Regions from separate parts of the Homo sapiens genome. Here all the other regions are linked to region 1. The links are contacts of gene promoters, found by promoter capture Hi-C in blood cells and fetal thymus (Javierre and others, 2016). All regions are on one chromosome and are shown on one strand. The core of a region is centred on a gene start or on the middle of the fragment in contact, and the rest is flanking DNA. Distances in the headings are between cores, read along the strand shown.

What was found. The method cuts DNA at HindIII sites, captures the fragments that hold promoters and counts their contacts. A CHiCAGO score of 5 or more calls a contact.
Region 2: a contact is called between a fragment that was not itself captured here and the fragment with the promoter of DNAH7 in region 1, in 1 of 17 cell types (M2 macrophages). The highest score is 15.3, in M2 macrophages.
Region 3: a fragment that was not itself captured here is called in contact with the fragment with the promoter of DNAH7 in region 1 in 1 of 17 cell types (total CD4 T cells); the score reaches 5.9 in total CD4 T cells.

What each region holds. Positions count from the first base shown.
Region 1 is chr2:196,067,341-196,070,674 of GRCh38, forward strand. It overlaps DNAH7 (dynein axonemal heavy chain 7), which reads right to left and starts at 1,497. Exons shown (of 65, transcript NM_018897.3): 1 at 1,357-1,497. The coding sequence starts at 1,371. RefSeq lists enhancers at 789-838, 1,319-1,408. The HindIII fragment of the contact is 14,129 bases long and covers 1-3,334 here.
Region 2 is chr2:194,166,553-194,169,886 of GRCh38, forward strand. No RefSeq gene overlaps it. Among named protein-coding and RNA genes, the nearest start is that of LINC01821, 180 kb to the right of the region's middle. The HindIII fragment of the contact is 683 bases long and covers 1,176-1,858 here.
Region 3 is chr2:194,547,643-194,550,976 of GRCh38, forward strand. No RefSeq gene overlaps it. Among named protein-coding and RNA genes, the nearest start is that of LINC01790, 180 kb to the right of the region's middle. The HindIII fragment of the contact is 2,421 bases long and covers 405-2,825 here.

The DNA of each region.
Region 1 (3,334 bases), core at 247-2,746:
TAATAATGGTGACAGTAACAAATGTTATTTTTTAAATCTGATTACATTAATATCATGTAGAAAAAAACTAGTAAGATCTATTAAACAATTGCTCAGTGTTTTTGGTTACTTGTATCTGAACTTTTTGTTTTTTGCTTGTCATTTACTCTTTTATTATTAATACCAATACTAATTATACTTTAGCATATGAATCAGTGTCCATTTCTTAGTTCTTAAATTATACTTATTTTTTTAAAAAGGTTCAAACCAAATTTTCTTGAGCATTTCAGGTATTAATTACTTATTTGATGAACTAACCAATCAGGATCTTCACATAGTTCTGTTAGTAATGTACAACTCAATGGATAGGAGACTAAATCCGTTTTAATACTGTTTCCACAATAAATTCTAACACTACCGAAAAAAGCATTATAAAGCAATAAAAAAGAAATAATTACCGTTTAATATTGTTTAAAAGCTAAATGAAATTTGCAGGCTTAAAAACAACTGTTTTTCTTCCAGGAGGTTTATAGAGTCCTTTTCCTTATTCATCACTACGTAGAAAGCTAGAGTTATTTTCTAGCTAGCCAGAATAATGACCACGTTTAATATCTTCCCATTCTGTGCTGATATTAAGACGACTGACCATTGTTCTGCCTTTCTGTTAGTTGCTCTTAAGTTCAATAAAGAAAGAATTCTTAGAAGAAAAAGGAGAGAAAGACAGAAAGGAAAAAAACGAGAAAAAAAGAGAAAGAAAAGCAGCTATTGCAAAGTGCATCTTTTATCACATACCATGGAATATCATCTTAAGAAGTGCCATATGTCACTTACCAAGGCCTTTCATGTATAGTATAATATTGTATAGTTATGGTATGGCATGGTATCTAATTTGAAATTGACAACAACCTCAAAAAGAAGAAAAGTTGTTCTGATGTTTCCCCCGCTCTGCATAAGAGGTGGGAGAACTAAGGCTTACAAAGACTAAGAGATTTGTCCAAAGTCACATGGCTAGGAGTTGGCTTCGATTCCCACCTTAGAACCCAAACCCGCTGCAACTCCTCGCAGAGCCGCCTCTCACCCAAGCACACCGCCATTAGCACTCTGGGGGTGCTCTGGGCTGTGGCTCCCCCTGCTGGCGCGCCGCTAGGCGGCTAGGTTTGGTTGTTATGACGACCAAGGGCAAACAGCTGGGAAGGGAACTTATAAGGGCATTCACGGAAAGCGCTCAGTAACCCAGGCCACAAGTGGGGTGAAGGAAGCTGTACACCGCGGAGTCACAGCTGGGGAGTTCGCTAGGCAGGAGGGGCTTCCACCACTTCCGAAACGCCTGGGAAGCGTCGCGGCGGCGGCGAGCCTGGCAAAGAGCAGCCCTCTCACCTGCTCACTGCTCATGGCTGCGAGGACGCGCTGGCCTCACCGGTGCTTCTGGGTTGCTCCTGCCCGCGGAACCCCTAGGACGATAGAGGCAGGGCCCCGGGACTTGCAGCGGTCTCAGCTCCCTCCGCACCAGAGCCGTCTAGCGTCCGGGCAGCGTTTGTTGCTAAGCAACGGGCCCGCGCAGGTTCCATTTCCGGTCATCTGTTCCTTCTGGGGCTGGACCCGGAAGCTGGCGCGCGGTCCCGCAAGAGGAGCTTTCTGGGGCGCTGCTGCCAGTGTTGTGAGGTCTAAGGTGTGCGTTGAATAACCAAAGACACTGGGTGGGTCTCCTCCAATATCCTCTGATTACTGAAGTAGATCCTCACACTTCCGCACCCTCCTTCTAAATAAGCCGGATGCCCAGGACTGCTGCCTTAACCCCTCAGAGGTCTCGGAGAAACACTGGAATGAAATGATTACAGATTTCATTGCTAATGTGGGCGAGTGGAGTAATGCGAGGCAGGATCCAGTAAACACCTTTCATTATTCATGTGCTTCCAACCCCTGTGCTGTTGACTCTTCCCACACTCCAGAAAACTATCCTTTGGAAGAATACCAGTAAAGGAACCTTCCAACAATTCTTGAAACCAACATTCACAGATGGTTTACTACATGAAAAGTGGTGTGCTAAGCACAAATGTGACCAAGACATCCATTCGCCACAGGCTGGGGGGTGTCCAAGCCAAGCACTTACCGTGTAGTGGAGACGGTGCTAAGAATGGCAGTCCTCAGTGAGAACATAAAGCACCAACTAATTTTCTCATGGAGGGCATGGAAGGGATGTGGAAGCTGAAATGTGAAGGAAGAAGAAATGCCAGGCAAAGAATGCCGGGCAAAAAGCAGGTCACATACAAAGGCCTGAGACAAGAGAGCATAGCTATTGGAAGCAGTGAAAATGGTTCTGAGAGGTCGATGAGTAGGTTTGGATAAAGGGGATTGGAGCCAGTCTAGAGAAGAAGCTGAGGTGATAAGCAGGTGATATATCTTAAAGGACCCTATAAAAGGGCAGGAGTTTGGATGTCAAAAGCAACTGACCTCCACTGAAAAGTTTTATGCTAAGAAATGGCAGAATTCCATCCTGAAATTAACAAGGAACCCCAAGGGGTCATAAATAGCCAAAACAATCTTGAAATTAAAGAACAAAGTTGGAGTACTCACACTTCTTGATTTCAGAACTTACTACAAGACTATAGTGACCTTAACAATTTATTTTCAACAAATGATGCTGGGGAAACTAAATGTCCATATGCGGAAAAAAATGCAGTTGGACCTTTACCTAAAAACATCATATACAAAATTATCTCAAAATTGATCAAAGATGTAACTGTAAGGTCTTAAACTATAAAACTCTTAGAAGAAAACTTAGAAGAATCGCTTCACGACATTGGATTTGGCAGTGATTTCTTGGACATGACACCAAAACGACAAGGAAAAAATAGACAATTCGGCTGCATCAGAATAAAAAACCTTTGTGCATCAAAGAATACTCTCATCAGTAAAAAGACAATCCACACAGGCCGGGTGTGTTGGCTTACGCTTGTAATCCCAGCACTTTGGGAGGCCGAGGCAGGCAGATCACGAGGTCAGGAGATCGAGACCATCCCGCCTAACATGGTGAAACCCTGTCTCTACTAAAAACACACACAGAAAATTAGCCGGGTGTGGTGGTGGGCACCTGTAGTCCCAACTACTCGGGAGGCTGAGGCAGGAGAATGGCATGAACCCAGGAGGCGGAGGTTGCAGTGAGCCGACATCACACCACTGCACTCCAGCCTGGGCGACACAGTGATACTCCGTCTCAAAAAAAAAAAAAAAAAAGTCCACAGAATGGAAGGAGATATTTGCAAATCTGATGAGGGATTAATGTACAGAATATTAACAAGTGTTAATGAGGATGTAGAGAAATTGGAACTCTTGTGCACCACTGGTGGGAATGTAA
Region 2 (3,334 bases), core at 267-2,766, 1.9 Mb before region 1:
ATGACCTAAAATTAGAAGACAATTATTGAGCTCTTACAGTGTAAAACATAAATTAAAATTTCCAAAGAAACATACGTTAAGCCATACATTAATTTTAAAAATGTATTTATCTAGGATGACTATAGCTAACAGTAAAGCAGTGATTATTACAAATAGTTAAAAGAATATCCCCAGAAAGAAATGATAAATGTATGAGGTGATGGGTTACTAACCACCCTTATTGGATAATTTTATATATATATATATATATATATATATATATATATATATATAATATTATATATATGTGTGTATCCAAACATCAAATTATACCGAATAAATAAGTACAATGACAATGATCAATTTAGAAAAAGAGAAAGGTATACTAGAGTTTCTTCTCTCACTGTTCATATATACCAAGGAAGTGCAATGTGAGTACATAGCCAGAAGGTGGCCATCTGCAAGCCAGGAAGAGAGCCCTTATTGAAACCAACCATACTGGCACCTTGATCTTGGATTTTCCAGGCTCCAAAACTGTGAAAAATATAGGACAGTTGTTTAACTTACTCAGTCTATGGTATTTTGTTATGGCAGCCTGAGTTGGCTAAGACATATATTTTACCACAATAACAATTATTTTTAAAAATTGTGAAAATAACGTGCACATGATTTTAAATGTAAACTAGCAGCAAAAATACAATTAAAAAAGAATGTATTGATCTAATTGGTAGAGAAATAAATCACACAAATGTCACATATATATATATAAAATATGTGATGTATTCATATATATGCACATACATATGCCTGTTCATATATGTGTGTATATGTGTGTTAACTTATCTGGAAATTTTAATTTACATTTTACAAGAGCTCAATAATCATCTTCTAATTTTAGGTCACAATGGTTTGGTGCATTATAAAGGAACATGTGTGCATATATATATATGCACACACATATATATATATAACACACACACATTGAGATCAGAAAACGTATTTATTATTTTCTGCTGTGTTAGATAAATTTACAAAGATAAGATAGAAGTTGACCTTCTTCATCAGGTTTTGTGGAATTTTAAAAACTAGAAAATTTTTGACATGCAATCACCCATTCCATGTTATATTATTTTTTAATGATTGTATGTCTTATCTCTTCATTTAAAAAATATTCAAAGGTTAGGGACTTTGTTTTAAGCTTTGTATTCTCCACAGCATTTAAACAGTTTTAAATACTATTTGCTAAGGATTAAAATAATGCATTGCACAACAGTTGCTAGTTTTTATTATCATTATCAAGAGAGATGCAGAATAATTATTCAGGTAAAGCTATTTCAATGTCGACTATAATGCAGGCCTTTGATTCAGAAGTCCTAGGTGTTTTCTTACTATTATTCATAGGCTCTTTACACCTTATATAATCTCACCAGGTACAGGGAATATTTGCTATTAACATAGCACCTCAGGCTGTGCTGTGACATAAATATACTTCCATTTCCATATATTTTCTAGATTATTCAATTATTGTGATTTTCAGAAGAAATAAATAACAAGTGTAGGCTCAATTCTCTTGAGGGTGATTATCCTTAGACAATAGTTACTAGAAATTCATTGTGTTGAGAAGATAGGAGATATATTTACATTCAAATATGTTTGATGTTAGCCTATATTAGTTTTCTTGATCTTTCTATTAAAATACTGAAGATTTTATATTATTTACTTAATGACACTTCTTAATGACAGCTTAGCCACTTCTGCCATTGTATAAATTTGGTATTCAATGAGTAGATTGTTTTGTTCCTAAAATATTTTTTAAAATATATTTATTTTAATTTGTATATACTTTGACAGTTTTTTTAAAAAGCCATTTTATAATTAAAGCTTAGTGGAGTTCACCTAGTTTTTGGTTTGGGTAAAAATTCTTTTCACTAGGTCATACAAACAGGTTATCTTCAATTTCATTATTAATGCTTTTTCTGTCAACACTGTGTCTGAGAATATATACATATATATATATATATATATACTCAGAATATATATATATATACTCAGAATATATATATATACTCAGAATATATATATATATTCTCAGAATATATTCTGAGAATATATATACTCAGTATATATGTATATATACTGAGTATATATATATATACTCAGTATATATATATATATATATATACACACACACATATATATCACGCTCCATCACCCACTGCAAAATGAACTACTTTTTAAATATTTTAGTTCTTATTTTAACTATCTACACTTTTCAATTAATGGTTGTTTTTCAATTTTTGGTTTTATCAAGTTTTCATAAGCTCTAACCAAAGAGGGCTTTAAGGTTCGCCTCAGCTAACTAAACTTTAAACAGGTTCCTTTCCAAATTTAGACTTCAATCTCCATTTTCTTATTTACTTTAGTAAACTTGAAATTGTGAATTCTTTCTCTGCAGCTTTCAGATATAAATCTTCTCCAAGTCTCTTACTAGTTTTACAACCCAGGAATGTCTTTCTTAGAAACTTAGGAGCCACTCTTTTGAAATATAATCATCAAGAAAGATAGTGTTACTTTATTTCAGTCTCTGTCAGATTGGAGGAGCATCACTTTAATAAGCAATGATTAGCAAACATATATGGCCTGATCACACTGACCAGCCTGCCCTCATTCGTTTTTCATTAGTTCACCTCACTGTTAAAATCACCCACCCTTTGTTCCAGCAGAGTTGTGTTCAGTATCTCTCCCCTAACACAATTTTCTTGAGTAAAGTTTTTATTGCCTGTTTAGCTCATTCTGTGAAAATTTACTTTGACACTCACATAATCCTTATTTTGATAATTGAATAATGACCTCCTACAGAAGACCAGAATCCTCTCCTCCAAATATAGATCTATCTGTCATCATTTGAGTTAATCTTTATTGGTTACTTTTGCACACTTAACATACTATTGCAATATGTTTATGTTTCTATCAGCATAACTTAATTTTAATTTGATTTCATAACCTTTAAAAGCATTATTAGTATTAGGAATTTACTTAGAATAATACAATTATTAAGATAAAAATAATCTAGGCATAATCCAATCCCATGGATAGGAAAGACTTTACTGGGACAAATAAAAATATGTATAAATCACAGTTTAAAAATTCACAAAGGCATTTTCCCAATGTCATATAAAAAGTATAGGTGACATCTGGTTCAGCATTTCAGTCAGGTTCGATTATGGTGAATGTAATGATTTGGTACACCAGGAGAAATATTGAGATTTTCAAAAAGACTAAGATGGTGACTGGCTCAGGGAGCTGAGCTGCCACTGTTGAGACTCTGTGGAGCCTGCACACCTTTTCATCTGTG
Region 3 (3,334 bases), core at 365-2,864, 1.5 Mb before region 1:
CAGGCTGGAGTGCAGTGGCGCGATCTCGGCTCACTGCAAGCTCCGCCTCCCGGGTTCATGCCATTCTCCTGCCTCAGCCTCCCGAGTAGCTGGGACTACAGGCGCCCGCCACCATGCTTGCCTAATTTTTTTGTATTTTTAGTAGAGACGGGGTTTCCCCATGTTAGCCAGGATGGTCTCGATCTCCTGACCTCGTGATCCGCCCGTCTCGGCCTCCCAAAGTGCTGGGATTACAGGCGTGAGCCACCGCGCCCGGCCGAGAAAGTCAATATTCTAGTAATTCATTGCACATCCCAGAATATTAATTCTTTTATTCTGAAAATATCAAATGAGTGACCATGTGTACTGAGCTTGGTGCAAGGTGAACAATATATGCGGAAAGGACAAAGTTCGTGCCTTCATGAAGCTTACCGCCTAGTGGAGTAGTTACACAACACAAACAAACATGTACTTACAAAATGTGACATACCATATGAAAATAAATAAAACACTAAGTGGATTGGTCGCTCTCTCTCTCTCTTCCAAGCCATCTTTTTCCTTTTTCTTCATCTATCAATATATATCTATCAATATTTTTGGCAGAAGCTAGAAAAAGGCTTTTTTTTTTTTTTTTTTTTTTTTGAGACTCAATCTCACTCTGTCACCCAGGCTGGAGTGCAGTGGCATGATCTCGGCTTACTGCAACCTCCGCCCCTTGGGTTCAAGCAATTCTCCTGCCTCAGCCTCCCTAGTAGCTAGGATTACAGGCACATGATACCACGCCAGGCTAATTTCTACATTTTCAGTAGAGACGTGGTTTTGCCATGTTTGCCAGGCTGGTCTCAAACCCTGACCTCAAGTGATCCACCTGCCTAGGCCTCAGAAAGAGCTGGGATTACAGGTGTGATCCACCGCATCCAGCTGGAAAAGACATTTTCAGTGGCCCATGTTCTTAACTGATACTGAATTCTCAAAAAGCCAACCATGCAAGTGACAAAGGAAAGAACATTCCTGGCAGAAGAAATAATATGTGGAAATGTCCTATTGTAGATCAAAACTTGATTCGAGTCGCTCTCCCTCTTTCTTTTGACTTTATCCAGTTAGAATAATTTCTTTTATTTGCTGAAATTCCAATAGCTCTACTCTGTTAATTCTGAGGTAAGAAACAGTCCTCCAGTTTTGTTATGTAACAATCAACGTCTCATTTCAATAACTGGACATCATACAAAATGTTATTCAAAATAAAAATTAAATTAATGTTATTTTTTCCCCTTTCCCTTGTTCAGGCCACTTCAGATTGGAAGCCCACACCTACTCCAGGCTGTTTTCCAACTGGAAAATGATGTGATGGGGTAATCCTGCTCTCTATCTGTATCTCACCAGCAGAATGCATACTCTATCAGAAAGGTTCTTTGGTGGAATGTATATTCTCTGTCCTGGAGCTCCCCAAGTGCCCACTGTCTCTGACCTCAAAGTCCAGGCCTTTCAATTGGATGACCCAAGACTACCCCACTGTGATTCTTTCTCCTGAGTGATCTACACTTTCTTTTGTGGCAACACTCACTACATCCTGACCCTACCGTCTCTAAGATATGGTGCAGGTGCTTCTGCACTCTTCTGGCTGCCAAACCAGTCAGCCCTTTGCTTGCTTTCTAGATTTCTAAAGGCAGGATTCAGATATAATGCTACAGTTTGTCTAAACCCAATAAATAAACTGTTCTCTCCCCAGGCCTCAGACAAAACAAACATGATTATCTTCCTTCTGTATGTCAGTAAGGTGAGCAACACCATTCTCCCCTGAATGAACACACTAAAATTCCTGGGTGTTGTCCTTGATACTCTGTTTTTCTTTATCCTTCATCATATCTTTAAGTTCAGCCTGTCACAAACATTCAATGACACCATTGATATCTAGTACATGTCAACCTCTTTCTTCCCTGAATGCACACAAAAGCCTCCTAACTTGTCTTTTTCTGTCAGTTCAGTTTTCCTGTCATTTAATACTGTTTCTTCTCTTGCTACTTGAGTTATTTTCCTAAGTGCAAATCTATTGTCATTTCCTTGTATAAAATTTTAATGGCTCTTTATTCCAAAACTAGAGATTGAACCGTTCTCAGTTTTTCTATGTCGTTGTATTTCCTGTCCTGAATAACCCATCCCTCATATTCCCTCTTGCCAATTATGTGGCTCACTCCTTCTCACACTTTAATGTTGATTTAGACTACAGAACTCTGTCTGACCCCTTGCTCTACTCTCAAAGCTCCCCTTTACTTCAGTCTAATTCTCTTATCATGCACTAAAGCCATCATTTATATTTGCTTTCTTTTTATAACTTAATAATCCTTAATAAGTCATCACTTCCTTGACAGGAAGAATCATGTCTTATTTTCATCATGGTATCAAGAGTATACAATACAACTCCTGGCAAACTATTAGTGTTTAACTGATATTTGTGGAATTAATTAATGAGTAGGTGAATAAGTGTAATGGTGGGTAACTCAGTATCTAGATGAAAAACACTGTCTCAAGAGCTTTCTCTTTGCCAAGACTCCAGTCCCAATTCCGAGCCTTTAACACTCTCCGCTTTAATTTGAGGAAAAAATGACTCTGATGGACCAGTTTTGGTCCATTATGTAGTTTCCACTTAATAAATAGAATTAAATAATTTCAATTAAGAAGGCTCATGTGAATACTGACACATTATCAGATACTTAGTTGACTAAAAGTCTTCAAAGGTGCCGTGTCATAGTCAGAGTTCTGGCATTGAGGAGGTTTAAAGAGAGTTCTTATTTACTAAGAGAGTTAGACAGGCAAACCACAGGAGATGGTGCTATCACCTTACATGAAGCTTACATTATACAGAAGGGAGGAAGATACTAGAAGAATAAGTTTTTGAGTTCTATGCAGAAAAATTACATATGGATACAGGAGGGAATTTTATGGAGTGAGAAGTGATAGTCTAAATAAATGGTGAAGGAATCCTTCTCTGAAAATGAGTAAACTATGTGTACATTTGAAGGAAATGCCTCACTGGCAGAGCTATGTACAAAGCAAAGGCTCTGAGGTGCCAGTATATTTAGTATGTTTAAGAAATCACAAAGACAAGCGTGACTGGGACTGAAGGAGGGAGTGAATTAATACAATCCAGAAAACCTAAAATATTTATATTACCTGGCTTTGTTTGAATTCCAATCCCAAATGAATTTGTCAAAGAAATCTGATTTGTCCAACCTTAGTTATTTGACAACTACAGGTTAATCCACTCTACTGAGGAAGGATGAGTCATCATAAATATTTCTTGCAGTGTCTTATCTTTTTAAACAAAGAACAAATTTAAGAGAAGTGTGCTGGGGTT